Regions from separate parts of the Homo sapiens genome. Here region 2 is linked to region 1. Evidence: promoter capture Hi-C in 16 types of primary human blood cells and fetal thymus (Javierre and others, 2016). All regions are on one chromosome and are shown on one strand. Each heading gives the region's core, a stretch centred on a gene start or on the middle of the fragment in contact. The rest is flanking DNA. Distances are from core to core; before and after follow the strand shown.

What was found. Contacts are between HindIII fragments. The CHiCAGO score rates a contact against its expected background, and 5 or more counts as called.
Region 2: a fragment that was not itself captured here is called in contact with the fragment with the promoter of OR8U1 in region 1 in 1 of 17 cell types (erythroblasts); the score reaches 5.6 in erythroblasts.

Annotation. Positions count from the first base shown.
Region 1 is chr11:56,372,811-56,378,484 of GRCh38, reverse strand. It overlaps OR8U1 (olfactory receptor family 8 subfamily U member 1), which reads right to left and starts at 2,861. Exons shown (of 1, transcript NM_001005204.1): 1 at 1,932-2,861. The coding sequence starts at 2,861. The coding sequence ends at 1,932. The HindIII fragment of the contact is 6,958 bases long and covers 1-5,674 here.
Region 2 is chr11:55,936,818-55,942,314 of GRCh38, reverse strand. No RefSeq gene overlaps it. Among named protein-coding and RNA genes, the nearest start is that of OR5I1, 3.2 kb to the right of the region's middle. The HindIII fragment of the contact is 2,549 bases long and covers 2,797-5,345 here.

The DNA.
Region 1 (5,674 bases), core at 1,612-4,111:
GGATTACAGGCGTGAGCCACCACGCCCAGCCAAGAGGTTATGCATTTAAGAACATTAATTATAACCTTTCAATATATAGATGACAGACTTAACATCTTCTGCCAGAGCTTAATCCTATGTGAGACAATAGGAAGGCACTGAAATGTTCAAGTAGTAGATACATGTGTTTAAAGAAAAAAGGAGGAAATAAACTTTTGAGAACTGTGGGTCATGCTACTCCTATGTCTCTACAACCTCACAAATATATAAGAAAATTATTGAAAATGGACACTAACCTAAAGCAGGTTATTTAAGAATTATTTCTATTTTAATATAATCTCTCAGTGGGCATTAATAGTATATTTCTAATCTTTTGCCATTAAGTATGGAAACAGGCTACAGATGAAAAAAAGTGAAGCAAAAATATTAAATGATAGGCATGATTCATAAAATCAAATCTTTCTTAGGCTAAATGATGAAAACACATGAGCACATAGAGGGGAACAACACACACTGGGACCTTTCAGAGGCTGGAGGCTGGGAGGAGGGAGCCAATCAGGAAAAATAACTAATGGGTTCCAGGCTGAATACCTGGGTGATGAAAAGATCTGTACAACAAACCCCCTGACACAACTTTACATATGTAACAAACCTGCACTTGTATCCCTGAACTTAAAATAAAAGTTAAAAAGATACTTTAAAATGATTACTCTCTCTCTCTCTCTCTCTTTCTCTCTCTCTCTATTATCAATTTATCAGCTGTGGTGTACAATAATCTTCATTTATAAATTGCTCCCTCACGTTTATGTGACTTATAATTAGTAGACTAGCACTCAAGTCTGCAGGTTCATAGAAGGAAGGGAAATGATACTCAAGTGCCTACCATGAATTATTACCCCTTTCCATATTGCTTAGTCCTATAAAAGTCTCTAAACTGAGTAACATTATTCTCATTTATCTGATGAGTAAACTCATAAGAGCATACCTAGAGCACAATGACATGTTTGGGATCTAACCACATACTTTGACTATAAGGCATGTGCTTATTCACTCGGCTACATTGCCTACTGGGTTCATTGAGTTATAAGCTATACCTTAATAAATAATGACCAGCTTACCTGAGCTTTGCTGTGCACAACTGTATATAATCCTTGTTACTGGAAAAATGATTTATGATGTTTCAATGACTGTGAATATATTTGTTTGAATTATAATGCCCTCCCCTCCTCCCTCCAGAATTCTATCCCTGAGTTACATTATTTACATTTTGGGAAAAAGTATAATGAGATCTTGTAGGCATAAGAAAAGCAGTTCTCTTAGAGAGTTAGTCTTCAGAGACAGAACAAGACTTCCAGGAAGTAGAAGGTACATTCAGTCAGTAACATAGGTGAGGTTAGAAAGCAGTACTCTTTGTATTAATAAAGACAATATGTTAAATGCATAAATATAGGACATTTTTATATTGTCATGTATTTTTTCAAAAAATTAGGAATTGAGAAAGAAAATGTTTAGACTATGTGTCTTTATTTTTCACGTGGGATATTGTAAATACAGCTTCAGAATCCTGAACTGGGGATGGACGGGGAGAGGAGTTAACTTTTGTCTGTGCTCTGCACATAACTAATTATATATCTTGATGATGACTTTTTATGCATTCTTCATTTGAGAAATAGGAAAATTGGTATAAAATATTATGCAAGAAAATTAATAATTTTAATATATTTTCCACTTGAAAAATAAGAGAAGTGTTGTAAATTCTTATAGTTACTTTTATACCTAACGTTCTAAGAGAAATTCTCTAGAAAATTGTATTACACAGCGAAAATATATGTATACATCACATATTGAGAAACAAGGATCCTGATAACTTATACTGGGAAAAAAATCATACCATGAAAGAAGTCCATTTTTCCTTACTCAAGTTACTTTCTTAATTTTATAAACACAAAACTCTAGTTTTTATTGATAATGATTTTCTTCAGAGCTTCTTTCACCTCCTTATTCTGGAGGCTATAGATTAAGGGATTCAACATGGGAATGATCACTGTGTAGAAGACAGAGGCCATCTTGTCTGTGTCCAGGGCATGGCTAGAGCTAGGCTGTAAGTACATAAAAATGAGGGTCCCATAGAATATGGTGACTGCCAGCATGTGAGAGCCACACGTCGAGAAAGCCTTCTGTCTTCCCTCAGCTGAATGCATCCTCAGGATGGCAGAAATGATGAACATGTAGGAGACAAAGACAATCAGAAGGGAGGAAATGAACATGATACCAGCACAGGCAAAGATCCAGAGCTGTTTGAAGCGAGTGTCTGAGCAAGTTAGCCTGAGGAGAGGCATGTCATCACAATAGAAATGGTTGACAATGTTGGAGTGGCAATAGGAGAGGCGGAAGGTGAGGATGGTGTGAAATAGTGCCATTAGGAAGCTATAGCTATAAGGAACTGCTACAAGTTGAATGCAGATTCCTGGAGTCATTACAACCATATACAATAGAGGGTTACAAATGGCCACATATCGGTCATAGGCCATGGAAGCCAGTAGCAAGGATTCTGATATCATGAAGGTGAGAAAGCAGCCCAGTTGAGTAGCACATGCATCAAAGGATATAACATTTTGTTTGTACAAGAAATTCCCAAGCATTTTGGGTGTAATGACAGAAGAGTAACAGAAATCCACAAAAGCTAGGTTGCTAAGAAAGAAGTACATTGGTGTGTTGAGACTTGTATCCGCTCTAATGAGTAGGATCAAACCCAAGTTGCCTACCACTGTGAAGAGGTAGATGGATAAGAATAGCACAAAGAGGGGCATCTTCAACTCCTGATGGTCTGTGAGGCCCACAAGAATAAACTCTGTCGCCTGGGTGCAATTGATGTGAGCCATATCTTTTCTGGCCATCTAAATGTGGAAGTAGAGAAAAGAGTTAAGTCTAAGTCATATTTTAATACTGTAAATCCTATATGTGGTGTTTTTATATTTATTGTATTGTAAAGAGTTTAATTAATTAGATTTATTTATTAATTTATTTAACTAATATAATGATTGTTAGCATACTGGAATTCTGGAAATGTGATGGAGAGCAAAAAGAATATAACACCGTATAAACATCTTTATATCTAAAGCATGAACTTACATGAATGTAGGGAATGAATCCTCACATAATCTTATCCTGTAAATTAGAGTAAAATTGATATTTGCTTTCTAAGAGATTTGGAAGTTTATGTTTCTTTACATTCAGTTTATGTCTGCTTTTTTATCTTTTATTAAAAAACTGATTTAATTACATTTTTTGCATTAATTTTTGTTTTCCTACTCTATTTAATGTTGTGTATCATCATTTTCTTATTCATTTTGGATAATTTTAAAATTGAATTATTGAATACCCAAATAGTATCAAATATCATGTCTCTCAACTCCTCTTTCTTCTCTCTCCCACCATTATATCTAGTAATGGAAAATAGAGCTTTCCTTAAAAACTTATAAATTTCACGCTTTGAAAATTACTATGCAAATAAATATATAAATAAAATAAGAGCCTGTGTTTCTTCACTGTTCTTCAGAGTTTACTAATAGCTCTTGAGTATTTACTTCTGCTCAATTAATCAAAGAATCCATTTCAGTTATTTGTGTTTTGTATTAATAAACATATTTATTGAGCAACATAATGTGGTAAGTAGTAACTTTCAAAAAATACTTATTTACCTTAATTTTATTCTAAATAAATTATATTTATTATATGTATAAGATACATATTAGATATGCAATATGTAAGTATATACTAGATATCCTAAAACCCTAATACAGATGGAACATTAATGTCTAATTATAGCAACATGGAAATTGATGGATAAGGACATAGGAACCCATAAATTCCAAATCTCTAATTGCATGTTAAAAACTGAACGTCAATTTTGAGTTAAAATAGGAAAAAGAAAAGAGAAAAGGGAGGTAAGTAAAAAGAGAATTTTTGGTCTTTGCACTGCTCAGACCAAACCCTTCTCAAGAAGACTAACTTTCAGACTCAAACTTTTTTATGACAAACTATAGAAATAAATACTTGTTATAAGATGGCATGGAACTAATAGATATATTGAGAATAATACTTTTGCTTCCCTGACATCCGCTTGTATTACATATTCTTTCGTTTTCTAGCGTAATCTGTTCCATTCTATTTAATTCAAACAATGCTTCTTGGGATCCTAAAAAGTGGATTTAAGATCTACTAGTAGTTACAAGCACAGTTTCAAAACCTACACACTAGTCCCCACACACTGAACCATTTTCACTAACATGAGTAGATAAGCAACTTACCTTTAACAGTTCCTAGCTATACCACCCACTGTAATCTGTAACCAAGACTGAACATTCTATCCTTAACATTTTCCTGGATTTTGTCTAACTGCTACTCTTGTAGAAGGTTATTTCAATTCATTCAGTTCTTTATTCAATAATATATAGTGGGGACTATTAATTTTCAGAGCGTGCATAGAGTCTGAAGATAGAGCAGTGAAAGAATAGATAGTAGTCCAGGCTGGAAAGAAAGCAAGCGTTATCCAACTTTACCCTATATTTCTGGTCTCTTTTCTTATCATTCGTTTTTCTCCACCTGTAAAACACAAAACCCTGAAACGTGTGCACACAAACTATTTTACTTTGAATCCAAAGGAGAGCATGCATTATATTTGAAAGGACATGTGACTTTTTATAGTATCATCTCTGAATATTTTTATTATCCCGGTTCCACTCAACTCTCCAGTCAGCAGGAGCATCCATTGTTTCAATTAATGATTGGTCTCAATTTGTCAATAACAAAATGCCTTTCCATACTTCTCTATTTTTAATCTTGCCATTCCTAGTTTCTTTCTTTACAGAAAAATAGACAGTGAAAATGGAAACTCCTACTTATCTTTCAAGCTCTGCTGAAATATCACACTTCTATGAAGAGCTACTTAATTTTTCCTTCCCATGTTAACAGCTTTCATATTTGTCTTCCAAAAACATTTTAGACATACCTAATCTATATTTCATCTCTTATTACAACCATCTGTTTCCATATATCTTCCCCTGATAGACTTTAGACCCTTTGTGGTTGAAAATCACGCTGTTTTTATTCATTTCCTAATGTAGTCTCTTCTAGATGTTAGATGATGGGGAATTAAAGATTAATTTTGGAATGACATTTGAATATTTCTTCCCCTTGCCCCTAGGTTATATTATTTTCTTTGGAAAATATCTCTAGAGACATATTAGTAATGTCTAACGAATGCCCCACTAATCCTGGGTAAAATTTCTAGCTACTGCAAGAGGGGAAAGCAGAGTTTGGGCATAGAATGTATAATTTGGTCAATAACGGAACTGTTTATTTCCAAACATTTTTAAAAATTCTAAACAGGAATTTTTAGTTACTTCAATCTAATAAGAAATATTTTAAAATCACAATGCATACCCACATATAAAATTAAAATAAAACCAGAGAAAACACTTTATTTTATAAAATGTACTCGTAATGATTTTTCTCTAATTATTGTACGGCACTCTTTAATTTTAAAAATACTTATCTCGAGTTAATATAGCAAATGTATTAGCTATAAATGAGTCAAAGCCCACCATCTTGAAATATGCTCTATTCTACCTGGGAAGAGGATACTTGTATTTCTCCTCATAATAGGTGTGGATAGCAATGACTATGTGGTTTT
Region 2 (5,497 bases), core at 2,822-5,321, 440 kb after region 1:
ATCCGATCAGAAAACAATTAGGGTTTGATCATACTTATTGTTTCGGTAAGGTGCGGTATACCTCCAGTTCACCCTATGTCTAAGGCATGTTCCTTCCAGCTTGCACTTAAGAACTTGGACTTTCTATGGCTCCTCAACAAGAAGAGACTACAAGAATGTCCACTCTTGTGTTTTCAGAGGTTTCTGGCATCTTCAATCTAACATTACACACAGCTTTAAAATTTGGCAGATCTTGTGGAAGGAAGATAACTGTATTTGAGGCCCCACATGTATGCAGTTTGTGCACTCTAATCCCATGCAATTACCGCAATTTCTGCATGTTTTACAGACTCCAACTGATATAGTTTGGCTGTGTCCCCAAGTCACAATTCCTCCTGGGTTTTATATTTTCTTTAATTCTCAGAATGCAAATCCACTGCAGTTCTTTATGTCCTTAACACTAAGAGATTTGAGAGAATACCAGTTTGTTTTTCCAATATTTTCTATGTCTTTAGTTTATTACATGCCAAAATTTGAATTTAAAATATCGTGAATAGGAAGTCCTTCATTTGTTGGAGATCCTCCCATCAGTTTAGGTATTTCAGCACTACATAATTGCCAAAAACTGTGGACAAACCCACGTTCTATCTCTTACTCATACTCATAATTGATAAATACCTGCAGGGACATATGCAGGTCTTCAGCTGACTTCTAACTAGTTATACCTTTTTTTGAATTATACTCATTCTAGTACATGTGATGAGTGTATACATATGATGCAAAATCTAATTCCCCAAATATCATCAAAATAACAAGTTCATAAGAAAGCCATTTATTGTTTACCTTGGTAAGGGCTAATACAACCTCAAAAAGTTTTGACAGTGTCTTGGGGTAAGGAAAGGCAGGAAAATAATTTATTAATAATTGGACATTTGTTTTGAGTTTTTCCAAGCAAAGATTTGATTGGATTAGATCAAGATATGGCAGTCCAAGTTAATGGAAATAGAAGGCAAGGGCTTTGAAGCAAGGAATTGAAACAATCTAGGGAATAAACTTTCTTTCTGCTGATGTTTCTCATTGAATAATCCATGGGGTGTTCAGAAAATATTTGTAATGAGCAGCCAAAATATTTGCCTAGGCAAAATCTCTAAAAAAAAAATAAATAAAAACTAGGGTGTGCGAATGAAAATAAAGGAACTTCAGAGTCATAATAATGCGACTTCAGGTGTGTTTTTCATTCTTACCTTCTAGGTTGTGTATAGGGATAGACAGTTTCAGGTCTCAAAGATAATTATAATTTATTCCTTTTTTTCCCTGTAAATTCTCAGTGGAAGTGATAAACTATAATTAATTATTATATCCTACCTGAAGTGGTAGTCTCATAATTTTTAAAATATCTTTTTAAATAGAGATAACAGAGGCTATTTAATTATGTATATACTATGTATCTTTCTTCTATCAGTAATCCATACATGGCAGAAACCTGATCAGTTGACTATAAACCCGATCAGTTGACTATGCGATTAGCTTATATCAGATAATATAATGTTACATGTACCAGAGCCAAATTATCTTCAGTGTCTTCTCAGACCTAACACTAGCAGCCACTATCGTACTTCTATCTTCCAGTTGATCTGATGTTAAAAAGAAAAATCTCAACTATGTCTATATACCTAAAACCTGTGGTTTTCTAGAATACTTGAATAATAAGTACAATTGACTTATGTCATGTGAAATTTTCCCTTCCATCTTTCCTTGCCCTCCATGTCTCTTGGATACTAAGTCAGGGAAATTTAGAATCACAATAAAGAGTAGTGCAAAGTCCAAGAATTAAATAGGGATTGCAAGTGTTCTTCTGCAGAGACAACGCTACAGATACTGGAGAGAATAGTCTCTTCTTACAACCGTCTTACAGGCTTAGACCTCTGCCCACAGATTCTCATAAATCACTCAACCATTAGAATATTATATTATCACTTTCCTTTCCGAAGAGTAGGATTAGCAAAAGAGAACGGTTACTTTTTTCCTTTAATGAATGAAATTATAAATAATTAATTTTTAAAATTTAAATTTGTGATTTCTAAAGAAGTATATTCAAAAAACTAGATTTACGGAGTAAATTTTTAAAATGTTTTTCAAATAACTTCATTACCAAAATGATAATTACCTCAAAATTTTTTAAATGATAAATTCCTTGTATGAGCATATTATACTAAAATGACAAACTCTCATTTTTTCTTTATAGAGTTAACTTTCAGTTCACCAACCCTATCACTATATTTTCCTAAATCACAAAATAAGTTCAGTATTGTGTGCAGTTATATAGAAGGATCATACCACAAATAAAGAGGAAATATGAATTCAGATTTGAGCTCACAGTAACTGAGATTTTTTTTCAATAGTTAGAATGTACACAGTGGATTGAAGTTGTGAAATTATTTTCCTAAAAAATAATTAAGCTGAGGCTTCTGACCATGTTTTAGTAGGTTCATAAATGGATTTTTGCAATGGATATAAGTTTTAAGAAGATTTCCTCTGTGATACTCCAGATATAGGCATGATAAATAAACCTGCATTATACTGTGAAAATAAAGAGACTATAATTGGTGGGGCTGCACTAATTACAATTAGCTATTAACTACAGTTGTTTGAATGAAGCTATCTTATACAATGTATATCAGAATAATGAAGTTGATGATGACAACCTGTGTTTACTGAGATGACCTTGCCATTGTCCTGATACATTTTGGTACCAGGTGTTATAAAGTCCTCTGTCTTGTCAGAAAACATCTGGTGATACTAAGCTCTACAGAAGCTTTCAATGCCACAAAAATAATTCATTAATTTTCAGTACTAGTAATCATAAATAATATTTTTAGAGTTTCCATGTGGTTTTTGAGAAATTTAAATGGCAGTAGTTACAGTTTTAAATATTTGAACTATTTGTAAAGAACCTCCACAATAAAGACGGTCCTTTGTAGAATGCCAAGTGTTAAAAACAACCTCCTCGATATTACTGAAAATGAAAATTACCTCTTCAAATTAACACAACAGCATTTCCATGAAAATTATGAATGTGTTTCTAGAGAAAATATTTACATTGGCAATAAGCCTAGTAACTATTCTCTAGGAGTCTCTCAGAAATTAACATGCTTGGAATCCTTCAATTACTAGGTCCCCAGTGACATAAGAATTCATGTAAAAGCCCTTGGTTGTATTGGTGAAATTATTCCCTTAAGCAACTTGCAACAGTTCCTTCCTCAGTAAGTAGCTTCTGCGGTTATTGGACTGGCTTTAATCGTGCAAAAAAAAAAAAAATCAACTTTTGTTGGTCTGAGAGCAAGAACCACTGATTTGAGTACAAATAGTTTTGAAAGTACATTTATCATTCAATATTGTACTGACAAGGTAATCTATCTTTTATCACCCTTTCTGATATAGCTTCCACAGGGTCTAAAATGTCTTTTGTTTAAATAAGCCTTTTGTTACTGATAGGAGAACCAAAGCATATCTACCTACCTTATAACTTGAATTAACTTATTTTATAACATAAGATTGTTTTGTTATGTTTGGAAAGAACTTATTGAATCATAGTATGTTAGTAAGATTTATTTGTTAATTCCCTTTTAAAAAGAAGAATCCAAGAATCACTGTCTTTTCCTACCACTATCCTCATGCCTCTTCTCTTCCTTTTAATATTTCTCTAAATAGAATTTTTTGACTATCAGAAGGAATGACCAATGTGAAGTTGCCAAGAATACATGCCCCACATTTTTGGGAAGTATGCGAACCATAGAATGGTCATACTGTTAATATTCTCCCCGTCCTCATGCTTGCTTTCATGGGCTTTGATTTCATACACCCCTGAGTTTGAATTGCACTGGTCAACTACATGTTGAATGACCTTGAGATACTATCCTAAGCATTAATGTTCTCATCCAAAATATGGAGCTAATAAAAAGAATCCTGTTTATAGAGAACCAGTGTATCATGTGGCTTTGGAGTCAGAATTTTGGGTTCTAATCCTGTTTCCATCACATCCTAAATCTCAAATTCTCTCTTTCTTAGTTTCCTTCATCTGTAAGAAAAAGATCATAATGATAGTAACTCCATGGTAATTTTGTTAGTTTTTTGGTGACAATTAAATGAGTTATAGGTGAAGTGTTAAGAATATTGCATTACACATAGTAAGCATTATACAGGTGACAATTATTGTTAGTAAAATTTGACAGGTAGCTCTAGTCATAATCTAAGAATAAAATGGCAGCGTGGCAATCAAAACTAATTTTTGATGTTATCTACTGTATGTCAGTCTCCCTAAAGAATGACACATGGAAAGATAAGTAGGTAGATAAAGGGACAGAAAGGGGGGGCAGAACATTTTCCCTATTTAATCCATACAGAAACACTATGAGATATTTATTATCATTGTTGTAGTATAGATTAGGATAATTTATATTAAGTGGCACAAGGTCACACAGCCCCCATGCAGCCAAGATGGGCATCTAATCAAATTCCTCCTAAATCGAAGTGATGTCTTATATTGTCTAAATACCTTGACTATTTTCAAACAAGCAAAATGAGAATAACCACTGTCCTGCTGTAGTGCTGCATCTCATTCACACGCTTTGAGGTGATAACATAAGGCAGCACTTTGAGCACGTGATTAACCCTTCTGATTATCAATAGGCTTCTCAGTGTTTATGTCATTGGGTAGTTTTATTGCTTACATGAGATAAATAAATTGTCTTTAGCACTGTCATTGTCATAATATCTATTATGTAAATGAGGCAGTGACTCAAATATTTTTAATTCCCATCTTGGCCCTCTCAACATGAACTTTAGAGATTGATGCTTTGCTTGCTTTTTTTTGTTGTTGTTTTGTTTTTTACGTATTTCCAAGTCTATCCTTCATGGTCAAAATCAAATTATTTGTACTTCAAAGTCAAGTTAAAAATTTTTATAATTCTGTAAGTATTTTGAGACCTCAGAAGCAGTGTTTAACAGATTTTTCTGACTCAACACTTTGTATTATACTACCATAACAATAAATGCAACAATTGTTCTTTACTTATAAAATTTAATCAGTGATGATGCCATATATAGTAATGTTATTTAATTGCAAGTTAACATATAACTAAATGTTTTGCTGACTGTACTTGGTCAGTCCACTAATGTTTAATGAGCATTTCCAGGAAGCCAAGGAGTTCGATAAATGCCAGAAGTATTGAAACAAGTAGTTAACTAATTTTATCAGCTTAGTTTAGTATGTGAACAGGGTTTATGGAATTACACTAAGCTCTTTTCTGTCAAAAATATCCTCAGAGCTGGTATTTACTGACATTTGTTTTTATTTCGCTAAAGCTTCTGCTTTACAGTAAAAAAAAAATTAGCCGGCATATTTCATCACACCACTCTATTTACTCAGTCAAGAGACACAGCATACCGGTATCTATCAAATCCTGAAAACAAGAAGCAGATGTTCTAAAATTCTTATTCAAAGGAACACTCTATAAGT